2 separate regions of the Homo sapiens genome follow, and region 1 is linked to region 2. The links are contacts of gene promoters, found by promoter capture Hi-C in human tissues and cell types (Jung and others, 2019). All regions are on one chromosome and are shown on one strand. Each heading gives the region's core, a stretch centred on a gene start or on the middle of the fragment in contact. The rest is flanking DNA. Distances are from core to core; before and after follow the strand shown.

Region 1 (6,828 bases), core at 1,842-4,341, 290 kb after region 2:
CTGGGCAACAGAGCGATACTCCATCTCAAAAAAAAAAAAAAAAGGTCGGGTGCGGTGGCTCACGTCTGTAATCCCAGCACTTTGGAAGGCCAAAGTGGGCAGATCACAAGGTCAGGAGATCAAGACCATCCTGGCTAACACGGTGAAACCCCATCTCTAAAAATACAAAAAATTAGCCAGGCGTGGTGGCGGGCACCTGTAGTCCCAGCTACTCGGGAGGCTGAGGCAGGAGAATGGCATGAACCCGGGAGGCGGAGCTTGCAGTGAGCCGAGATCACGCCACTGCACTCCAGCCTAGGCAACAGAGCGAGACTCCAAGTCAAAAAAAAAAAAAAAAAAAAAGTACCTGGCTCCCAGGCATGGTGGCTCACACCTGTAATCCCAGCACTCTGGGAGGCCAAGGGGGGTGGATCACCTGAGGTTAGGGGTTCGAAACCAGCCTGGCCTACATGGTGAAACCCCATCTCTACTAAAAATACAAAATTAGCCAGGCGTGGTGGTGCATGCCTGTAATCCCAGCTACTTGAGAGGCTGAGGCAGGAGAACTGCTTGAACCGGAGGCTGCAGTTGGCTAAAATCACGCCACTGCACTCCAGCCTGGGCAACAGAGCAAAACTGTCTCATAAATAAATAAATGGTAACTGGCACATGACCTGCATCATCAAAGGGCACCTACCACCCGCCTGTGCCCATTAAGTTAATTGGCCAGTAATATCTCTCAAGTGCGGGTTCACCAAGGGTGGCAAATCCCACTGAAGACATACCTTTCTGTTATCTACGAAATTCTGCTCTGCAACTCCCTCGCCTCCAGCTGCCCTTACCTACCCAATGCTAGAACGTTCTTCTTGTAACTTCCGACTGTGTGCCAGCTTTTCTCAGGTGTGCTCTGATGCACCTAAGAGATGACCCTTGTCATCCCATTTCACAAATAAAAACACAGAGGTCCAGGAGCCTAAGTCATTCATTCCTATTTATCCCAAAGGTGCAGAGCTAAGATCCCCATCTGCAGTTTTAAGCCCTCCAATACTCAATACTGGGTGCTAAGCCTTTATGAACATCATCTTATTAACAATAAAAGTAGTAAACAGAGTAACAAAGGCTGACATGTGCTGACTGCTTGGTGCCAAGCCCCCTGACATACAGTTTGCCATTTAATTCTCCACCAACATTATAAGGGTGCTACCACTATCCCCTTGCTAAAGATAAAGAAACCAATGCATTAAGAGGATACAACATTTGCCCAAAGTCAGAGCTGATAAATGGTGTGGGTTAGGCATGAATCCTCAACCACTACTCACTGAATTTTCACAAAAATTCTACAAAAGGTGTACTATCAACCCCACTTTTTTTTTTTTTTTTTTTTTGAGACAGTCTTGTTCTGTTGCTCAGGATGGAGTGCAGTGGCGCGATCTCGGCTCATTGCAACCTCCGCCTCCTGGGTTCAAGTGATTCCCGTGCCTCAGCCTCCCAAGTAGCTGGAATTACAGGCACCATGTCCGGCTAATTTTTGTTATTTTTAGCAGAGACGTGGTTTCACCATGTTGGCCAGGCTGGTCTTCAACTCCTCACCTCAAGTGATCCGCCTGCCTCGGTCTCCCAAAGTACTGGGATTACAGGCGTGAGCCACCGTACCGGGCCACAACCCCACTTAAAAAAAAAATTTTTTTTTTGAGAGACGAAGTCCTGCTCTGTCACCCAGGCCGGAGTATAGTGGCACAATCACAAAGCACTCCAGCCTCCGACTCCTGGGCTCAAGCAATCCTCCCACCTCAGCCTCCTGAGTAGCTGAGACTACAGACGCACTCGACCACACCCGACACCCGGCTCCAACCCCATTTAAAACAGAGAAACTGAGGATCACAAAGGTTAAGCCCCTCGCTTAAATCACGCAGCTGGCAAAATGGCCAGAAGCTGGACTCGCAAATCCAACCCGTTGCTCCCCAGAACCCAAACCATTCCTGGCCTGCTCAGTGAACTCACCTCAAACTCTCGAATGTACGGCGCAATGCCACAATAAGGTTGATTGTGGTGTTTTTCATGTGGCAGTTTCTCCAGGGGTGGCAGGTATGGAATAGGGTCACGGGGGGCAAAGAGGGCCAGAAGGTTGGGCGGCAGGAACTGGGTCATCTTGCCAAGTCTGAGAGCAGAAGCAGGACAGCCTTAGGTTAGATCGGGTCTGCACAGAGAAAGCCCCTGTTACTCCTTGACTCTCAAAATAAGAAAGACAGGAGAAAAGTCTCGGAATTAAAACAGGCTCTGTAAGGGCAGAGAACAGTCCTGTGTTGCGGAGAAAAGGGTACGTCTTGGTGGGGGTGGAGGTGAAAGGCCGGTAAAGAAAACAAAAATAACGGCTGGAAAAGGGTTCCTGAAGAGTGAAGTCTCAGAGTCCTCTGACACGAGCTGTGGGGCGGAGAGGTTCCCTGGGAATTTCTGGGGAAATCAAGGACCCGAGGAGGGAGGCCCAGAGCAGCTGTGGCTGCTCGTCCCGTGCCGTGGAGGGCAAATTACGAGATGCAGTTTGCAGGGTCCTGGGGATCGGAAGTTTCCAAGCAAAGAAAGAGAAACATAAGGAGCGAAGCCCCAAAACCAAGTGCTTGTGGGTAACAGACCTGGACCCCGCAAAAAGCGAAAGGAATTATGGGTAAGGGTCCAGGACAACATAGACAAACGAAAAAGAAAAAAGGCCACACACCGCAAGGGCCTGTGGGTAGGGAACCACGAGGGCGCTGTGGGAAGCGGGCGTGGGTGCCCAGAGATTTCGGGGTCCGGGAAAGGGATGCAGAAGGGACCTGTGGCGGGGACGCGGGAAAGGGGCCTGGCCGCGGGGAAGAGGACCGGGCCCACCGCTGGGGCTTCTGGGTAGCGGCCCCGCACCCCGTCGGGCCACTCAGTCACACTCACTCACCGCGTAGCGCCCTCCTCGCTCTGGCGTCTGTCCGGAGGCTCGCGGCGGCTGCGGCAGCCCCTCAGCAACAACAACTCCTGCTTCGGCTTCCACTCCGGGGGCGTCCACGTCCGTCTGATTCCGTCGCCCGCTAAGCGAGCGCACCAGGCCGCTGCTCAGCCACCCGCGCGGCCTCCGATAGCGACTGGAGCAGGGGGTGGGTCCCGGCCGCAAATCCCTCCGCCGTCCTCACTGCGCACGCGCCGTGCGGTGCCAACAACAACCCACACACTAGGACCCGGCGCTGCCGCGGGCACAGCGCACGCGCGAGGTCACTACCCCGCCTTTGGGCACCTTGAGTACCTCAGCCGCGGGGGGCTGGCTTCTGCACTGCGCGCGCGCGCTTGCCCCAAGCCGCCCCTCCACCTCCCGCTTTCCGCGCCGAACCGCCTATGTCCGCGAGACTCTCCCTGATGCTCCGCCCCTTTCCGATCACACTTCCCGGATCTTTCGCGCATGCGTTTTGCGTAGAGAACTGTAACGTACCTCTCCGCCGCCTAGCAAAGAGTCCCTAGGTGAACAGCCTGATTGCGTTGATGTCTAATCTATTCAATCAATAACTATTCATCGAGCATCTCGTGTGTGCTAGGCACTGTCTGGGCTTTGGGGGTACAGCACGTGATTAAAGCAAAGTCTTCTGCTGCTAGGGCTTACATTGTACTGGGAGAGACAATAAAAGCATTTAACTGAATAAAGATAATTTGAGGCCAGGCGCGGTGGATCACGCCTGTAATCCCAGAACTTTTGGGAGGCTGAGGCGGGCAGATCACCTGAGGTCAGGAGTGTGAGACCAACCTGACCAACATGGTGAAAGCCCGTCTCTACTAAAAATACAAAAATTAGCCGGGCGTGGCCGTGCGCGCCTGTAAGCCCGGTTACTCTGGAGGCTGAGGCGGGAGAATCGCTTGAACTCGGGAGGCGGAGGTTGCAGTGAGCCGAGGTCGTGCCATTGCACTCCAGCCTGGGCGACAGAGCGACTCCGTCTCAAAAGTAAATAAATAAATAAATAATAAAAGATAATTTGAGATAGTGGCCAGCATAATGAAGAACGATGGAGCAGAATAAAGGGATGGGAAGTGAGAGCGAGGCTGTTTTAGAAAGGGTGATAATGGAAGGCCCCTCTGAAGAGGTAACATTTGAATAAAGGACAGATAGAAGCGAGATCTGGGGTGGGGCCGGGGGGGCGGTGTTTAACAGTAAGTGCAAAGGTCCTGAACTGAGACCAGATGGCAGGAATCTCAGGTTGTTGGCCATGAGATCAGAGAGCTGGCACTTGTTATTTAGAGCCCTGTTCTTAAGTATTGTATCTTAAGTTTTGTGGATGGATTCAATAGCCTGTTTAATAACTACAGAAATTATTGCAAATTAAAATGACTAATTTTATGTTTCAAGAAAAAGGCCGAGTGCAGTGCTCACGCCTGTAATCCCAGCACTTTGGGAGGCCAAGGCGGGCAGATCACCTGAGGTCAATAGTTCGAGACCAGACTGATCAACATGGAGAAACCCCGTCTCTACTAAAAATACAAAATTAGCTGGGCATGGTGGCACATGCCTATAATCCCAGCTACTTGAGAGGCTGAGGCAGGAGAATCACTTGAACCTGGGAGGCAGAGGTTGTGGTGAGCCAAGATGGCACCATTGCACTCCAGCCTGGGAGACAAGAGCAAAACTCCGTCTCAAATAAAAAAAAGAAGTGGGAGGATCGTTTGAGCCGAGAAAGTTGAGGCTGCAGTGAGCCAAGATTGTGCCACTAGACTCCAGCCTGGGCGACAGAGCGAGACTCCGTCTCAAAAAAAAAAAAAAAAAAAGAAAGAAAAGGGCTGGGTGTGGTGGCTCACACCTGTAATCCCAGCACTTTGGGAGGCCGAGGTGGGCGGATCACCTGAGGTCAGGAGTTCGAGACCAGCCTGGCCAACATGGTGAAATCCCATCTCTACTAAAAATACAAAAATTAGCTGGGAGTGGTGGCACGCACCTGTAATTCCAGCTACCTGGGAAGCTGAGGCAGGAGAATTGCTTGAACCCGGGAGGCAGAGATTGCACGACTGCACTCCAGCCTGGGCAACAGAGTGAGAATCTGTCTCAAAAAAACAAATAAAATAGGCCGGGTGTGGTGGCTCACACCTGTAATCCCAGCACTTTGGGAGGCCAAGGTAGGAGGATCCCTGAGATCAGGAGTTCAAGACCAGCCTGGGCAACATGGCGAAACCCCTTCTCTACTAAAAATACAAAAATTAGCTGGACATGGTGGCATGCACCTGTAATCCCAGCTACTTTGAAGGCTAAGGCAGGAGAATCGCTTGAATCTGGGAGGTGGAGGTTGCAGTGAGCTGAGACTGTGCAACTGCACTCCAGCCTGGACAGAGCAAGACTCTATCTCAAAAAATAATAATGATGGCTGGGCACGGTGGCTCACACCTGTAATCCTGGCACTTTGGGAGGCTGAGGCAGGCAGATCATGAGGTCAAGAGATCGAGACCATCCTGGCCAACATGGTGAAACCCTGTCTCTACTAAAAATACAAAAATTAGCTGGGTATGGTGGCACGTGCCTGTTGTCCCAGCTACTTGGGAGGCTGAGGCAGGAGAATTGCTTGAACCCAGGAAGCAGAGGTTGCGGTGAGCCAGGATCGTGCCACTATACTCCAGCGTGGCAACAGAGCGAGACTTTGTCTCAAAACAACAACAATAAAAATAAAATAATAATAATAATAAAATAAAAGGGAGAAATCTGCCAAAGGAAAGGGACAATAGGCTTAACAGAAGTCTGAAACACAGCAGAGAAGACATTAAACTTTAAAGCTCTAGCCTGGCACAGTGGCTCACACCTGTCATCTCAGCACTTTGGGAGGCCGAGGTGGATGGATCACGAGGTCAGGAGTTCAAGACCAGCCTGGCCAAGATGGTGAAACCTCATCTCTACTAAAAATACAAAAATTAGCCAGGTGTGGTGGCAGGTGCCTGTAATCCCAGCTACTCAGGAGGCTGAGACAGAAGAATTGCTTGAACTCGGGAGGCGAAGGTTGTCGTGAGCCAAGATTGCACCACTACACTCCAGCCTGAGCAACAGAGAAAGACTCTGTCTCAAAACAAAAACAAAAACAAAAAAAAACTTTAAAGCTCCAAAATAATCCCTGATTCCATGTTCTGCATCCAAGGCACACTGGTGCAAGGAGTGGGCTCCCAAAGTCTTGGGCAGCAAAGTCCAGCCCCAATGTCTCCTCACACAGGTTGGAGTTTAGTGCCTGCAGCTGTTGTAGGCTCAGGGTGCAATCTGCTGGCAGACCTGTCACTCTGGGATCTAGAGAGGAGGGGTCCCCTTCTCACAGCTCCACTAGGCAGCGCCCTGGTGGGGACTCTATGTTAGGCCTCCAACCCCACCTTTCCCCCTTGGCACTGTCCTAGTAGAGGCTCTCTGTAGGGACTCCAACCATGCAGCCGACTTCTGCCTGGACACCCAGGCTTTCCTACACATCCTCTGAAATCCAGGTGGGAGCTGCTAAGCTTCCTTCACTCTTGCATTCTGTGCACCTGCAGGCTTAATCCCACATGAAAGCTGCCAAAGTTTATGGCTTGCACCCTCTGGAGTGGTGGCCCAAGCTGTACTTGGGACCCTGTGTGTCATGGCTGGTGATCGAACAGCAGGGATGCAGGGGAGCAGTGTCCCCAGGCTGAGCAGGAGACAGGGCCCTGGATCTGGCCCAGTAAACCACTCTTTCCTTATATGCCTCAGAGCCTGTGATGGGGGAGGCTGTTTTGAAGACTCCTGAAATGCCTTCAAGGCCTTTTTCCCATTGTCTTGGATGTTAGCACTTGGCTTCCTTTTAGTCACGCAACCTCTCCAGCAAGGCAATACAGCCTGCTTCTATTTCTCTCCTAAAAAAT
Region 2 (6,283 bases), core at 2,729-5,228:
GATGAGGAAGTCCCCTCTGTTTTAACCTTTACAAGTAAAGTAACTTTGTTTGTTTTTTTGTTTGTTTTTAGAGACGGAGTCTTGCTCTGTCGCCCAGGCTGGAGTGCAGTGGTGTGATCTCGGCTCACTGCAACCTTCGCCTCCTGGGTTCAAGCAATTCTTCTGCCTCAGCCTCCCGAGTAGCTGGGATTACAGGCACCCACCGCCATGCCCGGCTAATTTTTTATATTTTTAGTAGAGACGTGGTTTCACTGTGTTGGCCAGGCTAGTCTTGAACACCTGACCTCAGGTGATCCACCTGCGTCAGCCTTCTAAAGTGCTGGGGTACAGGCGTGAGCCACCACACCTGGCCACAAGTAAAGTAACTTTGAAATGACCAATTGAGGCCGGGCACAGTGGTTCATGCCTGTAATCCCAGCACTTTGGGAGGCCGAGGTGGGCGGATCACGAGATCAGGAGATGGAGACCATCCTGGCTAACATGGTGAAACCTTGTCTCTACTAAAAATACAAAAAATTAGCCGGGCATGGTGGCAGGCACCTGTAGTCCCAGTGAGTCAGGAGGCTGAGGCAGGAGAATCACTTGAACCCGGGAGGCAAAGATTGCAGTGAGCCGAGGTGGCGCCACTGCACTCCAACCTGGGCGACGGAGCGAGACTCCCATCTCAAAGAAAAATAAAAAAGAAAGGAGGTATTCAAAATGAATCTGAAAGGATAGTTTGATGACAGATAATAATTGTTCTGTAATAAAAAATTAAAAAAAAAAAAAAAGAAATGTAATCCCTGGCCGGGCACAGTAGCTCACGCCTGTAATCCCAGCACTTTGGGAGGCTGAGGTGGGTGCATCACTTGAGGTCAGGAGTTTGAGACCAGCCTGCCCAACATGATGAAACCCTGTCACTACTAAAAATACAAAAATTAGCTGGGTGCGGTGGCTCACGCCTGTAATCCCAGAACTTTGGGAGGCTGAGGTAGGCGGATCACTTGAGGTCAGTAGTTCAAGACCACCTGGCCAACATGGTGAAACCCCGTCTCTACAAAAAATACAAAAATTAGCTGGGTGTGGCAGCAGGAGCCTTTAATCCCAGCTACTCGGGAGGCTGAGGCAGGAGAATCGCTTGAACCCGGGAGGTAGAGATTGCAGTGAGCCGAGATCGTAAACAACCCTTCTCTGCTCGGCTCATGGGAACACTCATTTTACTTTATAGAATGAGGTACTGCCCTATTCTAGAATTGCAAATAAAAGCCAATGTGGGCCGGGTGCAGTGGCTCACGCCTGTCATCCCAGCACTTTGGGAGGCCGAGGTGGGTGGATCACGAGGTTAGGAGTTCAAGACCAGCCTGGCCAATATGGTGAAACCCTGTCGCTACTAAAAAATACAAAAATTAGCCAGGCATGACAGCGCGTGCATGTAGTCCCAGCTACTTGGGAGGCTGAGACAGAAGAATCTCTTGAACTTGGAAGGTGGAGATCACGCCACTGCACTCCATCCAGCCTGGGCGACAGAGTGTGAGACTCTGTCTCAAAAACAAAAAAAACAAAAAGACACAATGTGAGGATACAGTGAGAAAGCAGCCATCCTCAAGCCAAGGAGAGAGGCCTTAGAAGCAGCCAAACTTGGCCGGGCGTGGTGGCTCATGCCTGTAATCCCAGCACTTTGAGAGGCTGAGGCGGGCAGATCACCCGAGGTTGGGAGTTTGAAACTAGCCTGGCCAAAATGGTAAAACCCCATCTCTATTAAAAATACAAAAATTAGCTGGGCGTGGTGGTGAGCACCTGTAGTCCCAGCTACTTGGGAGGCTGAGGCATGAGAATCACTTGAACTTGGGTGGTGGCAGAGACTGCAGTGAGCTGAGATCATGCCACTGCACTCCAGCCTGGACGACAGAGCGAGACGGTCTCAAAAAAAAAAAAAAAAGTTGACTTGTATTCATTGTACTCACTGTTGGGTTCCTGAGTGTGTGAGTCTATGGGGTGATCCAGCGCTCAGCTTGGGCTTCAAGGGAGAGAGTACATGCCGTGTCCGGGTCCTAGATGGGACTCAGCACTGGGGAGGATCAGATCAGCTTTCTCCTTGATGGGTCATGACGGAGGATTCTCAGAGGGGACAGGAAATGCTCTGAGGAAGGACAAAGTGGACAGACCACCACAGGCAAGCTCTGTGAGCTTCCAAGTTTGGACGTGGCATCAGGCCTGGAAGTGAGGGAGTTTGAGGTGGTGAGCAGGGAGGGTCAGATAGAGGGACAAAGAGAGAGAAATAGCAAGTTGGAGATGGAGTCTCTCCGTCAGGGGGTAGTGAGAGAATGAGAAGATGAAGACAAGGATAGGTGGGTGTGGACACCACAGAGTCGAGGCTGGAGATGACATGGGAAGGACCTGAGTGGGGCTGGATAGTGGTCCCCCAAAGATGATCACCCCATAATTCCTGAAAACTGTAAATATGTTGTCCCGGTAGGTCCAGTCCAATCACATGAGCCCTTCAAAGCAGAGGACTGTCTCTGCCAGAAGAGGAAGGCATACCAGAGATGGGACACAAGGGGAAGTCAGAGTCCCGCCATGATACTGGGCTGTGGCTCTGGGATGTCAGGTCCACCTGCAGTAACTGGAGAGAGGCCTCTTGGAGCTAAGCGTGGAAGCATGGGTGGCCCCCAGCTGACAGCCAGCAAGAACGTGGGGACCTCAGTCCCACAAGCCCAGGAACTCGATTCTGCTTAAAATCTGAATGAGCTTGAAAGCAGCTTCTTCCCAGAGCCTCCCAATGAGAGCTCGGGTGGCTGACACCCTGTGAAACCCAGAGCTGAGGGCCAGCGGAGCCATCCTGGATTTCTGACCAGGATGATATGTGAAATAATGCATTTGTGTTGTTTTAAGTTGCCAAGTTTGTGCCCATTTTTATGGCAGTAACAGTACGGGGGCCAAGTAGAGAGGACTGGAGTGAAAGAGTTGGGGGCCGGGCACAGTGGCTCAAGCCTGTAATCCCAGCACTTTGAGAGGCTGAGGTGGGAGGATCGCTTGAGCCCAGGAGTTCAAGACCACCCTGAGCAACACAGGGAGATCCCTATGTTAAATAATACAACAATTAGCTGGGCGTGGTGGCGCACACCTGTGGTCCCAGCTACTGGGGAGGCTGAGGTGAGAGGATCACCTGAGCCTGGGAGGTCAAGGCTGCAGTGAGCTGTGATTGTGCCACTGCACTCCAGCCTGGGTAACAGAGTGGGACCCTGTTCTCAAAAAAAAAAAAAAAGCAAAAAAAAATAGCTGAGAGTTGGGAGTGCAGACAGGGCTGGAGGTGACAGGGTTGGGTGCTGAGTGGACAGATGGGGCTACAGCACAGACAATGCCTGAATGAGAAAACCAAGCCTGGGAGACTTAGGCAAGAGCTAGCACAGCCAGCTCTCATGCTCAGAGCTGGGACTGGGGGCCTTTGCCATGGCCTGGTTGGCAGGCGGTTGGGGATAAATAGTGAAAGGAGATGGTGTTGTTAGATGTAAGAAAGAACTTTATTTCCATATGGTGCTTGGGGCAGGGTCTGATGGGGGCTACAGGCAGGTGCTCCCCGGTCCCCACCCCTACAGCTGCCGAGAGGGCCTGAGGATGTACAGTAAGTGGGTCTTTCGGGGGGACAGCCTGGAGTGGGAGGAGCTCTCGGTCCCCTCTTCTAGGACGTCCTTGTGGGTCCCCTTGCGGAGTCCATCCCGGATGGCCTGCAGGCGGTGTCGCTTCTCGCTGAGCCAGTGGCCGCCCTCCAGGGCATCCTGGTGGGACCTCCGCCGTGGCAGCTTAATGATCCAGAAGGCCACCCGGGGATGGAGTTCTGTGTGGAAGCTGTCCGTGGCCTTCTGGATGGGTACCAGGGCCTCCTTCTCCTCCATCCTGGGTACCTGGGGAGGAAGAACAAGGAGACCCTCTCATACTCCAAACAGCACCCCAGGATGGTCAGTCCCCACTGACCTATTCAGCCCACTTTGCAGATGACAGGATGCTTTGTGGGTTCAAAAGCCCTGTTTGAGGTTTACAAAGCACTTGGGTTTACACTTAAGGATTAAAAATACTCTGAGGTTTACAGAATGCTTTGGGATTGGAAAATTTGTTTGGGGGCTTTCAAAAGGGAGGTAATAGAGCACTTCAGGGATTATAATGCCTGTTGGGATTCTAGAGCACTTTAGGATTAAATCCTCTCTGAGGTTTAGAGGATAGCAGTTTGAAATGTACAAAGCACTTTAGGACTAAAAGCTCTTGGGTTTACCGAAGACTCATGACCATAAATGCAATGTGTGATCCTTCATTGATCCTGAATCAAAAGCTTTCAAGGGGCCAGGTGCAGTGGCTCATGCCTGTAATCCCAGCACTGTGGGAGGCCGAGGCTGGCGGATCACGAGGTCAGGAGATCGAGACCATCCTGGCTAACACGGTGAAACCCTGTCTCTACTAAAAATACAAAAAAATTTAGCCGGGCATGGTTGCGGGCGCCTGTAGTCCCAGCTACTCGGGAGGCTGAGGCAGGAGATTGGCATGAACCCAGGAGGCGGAGCTTGCAGTGAGCCGAGATCGCACCACTGCACTCCAGCCTGGGTGACAGAGCGAGACTCCATCTCAAGGGAAAAAAAAAAAATAAAGCTTTCAAGGACAGCTTTGAGTTGAGGGAGAAAGTTTGAATATGGACTGAGTGTCTGTTTGGTCCTTGCAATTCAAAGGGTGGGCTGCTGTTGTTAGGTATGCAAATTAATAGGTCCCACCCCACTCAGACCTGCTGAATCAGTCTGCCTTTTAGTAAGATGAGGTCTGAGAAGCCGCGCAGGAGATTGTTATGTGTTAAATTGTTTCCTCCTGGCTGGACGCGGTGGCTCATGTGTGTAATCCAGCACTTTGCGAGGCTGAGGTGGGCAGATCACTTGAGGTCAGGAGTTTGAGACCATCCTGGACAGCATGACAAAATCCTGTCTCTACTAAAAATATGAAAATTAGCTGGGCGTGCTGGCGCGCTCATGTAATCCCAGCTACTTGGGAGGCTAAGGCAGGAGAATCACTTGAACCTGGGAGGCAGAGGCTGCAGTGAGTCAAGATTGTGCCATTGCACTCTAGCCTGGGCAACAGAGCAAGACCCAGGCTTAAAAAACAAACGAACAAACAACCATATTGTTTCCTCCCCAAATTCATATTTTGAAATTCTAACCTGTAATACCTCAGAATGTGGCCTTATTTGGAACTAGGGTCATTGAAGATATAATTGGTGAAGATGAGGTCATTAGGTTGGGCCCTAATCCAACATGACTGTGTTCTTTTTTTTTTTTTTTTGAGATGGAGTCTCACTCTGTAGCCCAGGCTGGAGTGCAGTGGCACAATCTCGGCTCACTGCAGCCTCTGCCTCCTGGGTTCAAGCGATTCTCCCACCACAGCCTCCAGAGTAGCTGGGATTACAGGGGCATGGCACCATGCCAGCTAATTTTTGCATTTTTAGTAGAGACGGGGTTTCACCATGTTGGCCAGGTTGGTCTCAACCTCCTGACCTCAGGTGATCCACCTGCCTTGGCCTCCCAAAGTGCTGGGATTACAGGCGTGAGCCACCATGCCCAGCCTATTTATTTATTTATTTTTTGAGATGGAGTTTCGCTCTTGTTGCCCAGGCTGTAGTGCAATGGTGCTATCTTCGCTCACCGCGACCTCCACCTTCTGGGTTCAAACGATTTTCCTGCTTCAGCCTCCTGAGTAGCTGGGATTACAGACATGTGCCACCATGCCCGGCTAATTTTGTATTTTTAGTAGAGACGGGGTTTCTCCATGTTGGTCAGGGTGGTCTCGAACTCCTGACCTCAGGTGATCTGCCCGCCTCGGCCTCCCAAAGTGCTGGGATTATAGGTGTAAGCCACCACTCCTGGCCATACTTTGTATTTTTTTTTTTTTTTTGAGACGGAGTCTCGCTCTGTCGCCCAGGCTGGAGTGCAGTGGCACGATCTCGGCTCACTGCAAGCTCCACCTCCCGGGTTCACGCCATTCTCCTGCCTCAGCCTTCTGAGTAGCTGGGACTACAGGCGCCTGCCACCATGCCTGGCTAATTTTTTTGTATTTTTACTAGAGACGGGATTTCACCGCATTAGCCAGGATGGTCTTGATATCCTGATCTCATGATCTGCCTGCCTCGGTCTCCCAAAGTGCTGGGATTACAGGTGTGAGCCACTGTGCCTGGCCCCATATTTTGTATTTTTAGTAGACGGGGTTTCGCTACGTTAGCCAGGCTGGTCTCGAACTCCTGACCTCATGATCCGCCCGTCTCTGCCTCCCAAAG

Evidence for each region. Contacts are between HindIII fragments. The study calls those that stand out against the background at their distance.
Region 1: a contact is called between the fragment with the promoter of SNRNP70 here and a fragment that was not itself captured in region 2, in 1 of the 25 tissues and cell types used here (dorsolateral prefrontal cortex).

Annotation. Positions count from the first base shown.
Region 1 is chr19:49,081,714-49,088,541 of GRCh38, reverse strand. SNRNP70 (small nuclear ribonucleoprotein U1 subunit 70) reads right to left here and starts at 3,091. Exons shown (of 10, transcript NM_003089.6): 1 at 2,906-3,091; 2 at 1,981-2,137. The coding sequence starts at 2,127. RefSeq lists enhancers at 2,906-2,995, 3,346-3,415. The HindIII fragment of the contact is 18,802 bases long and covers 1-6,828 here.
Region 2 is chr19:49,372,315-49,378,597 of GRCh38, reverse strand. DKKL1 (dickkopf like acrosomal protein 1) reads right to left here. Exons shown (of 5, transcript NM_014419.4): 5 at 3,482-3,881. The coding sequence ends at 3,570. The region is part of intron 2 of LOC101928295 (a long non-coding RNA gene); the gene reads left to right. Among named protein-coding and RNA genes, the nearest start is that of DKKL1, 12 kb to the right of the region's middle. The HindIII fragment of the contact is 4,218 bases long and covers 1,870-6,087 here.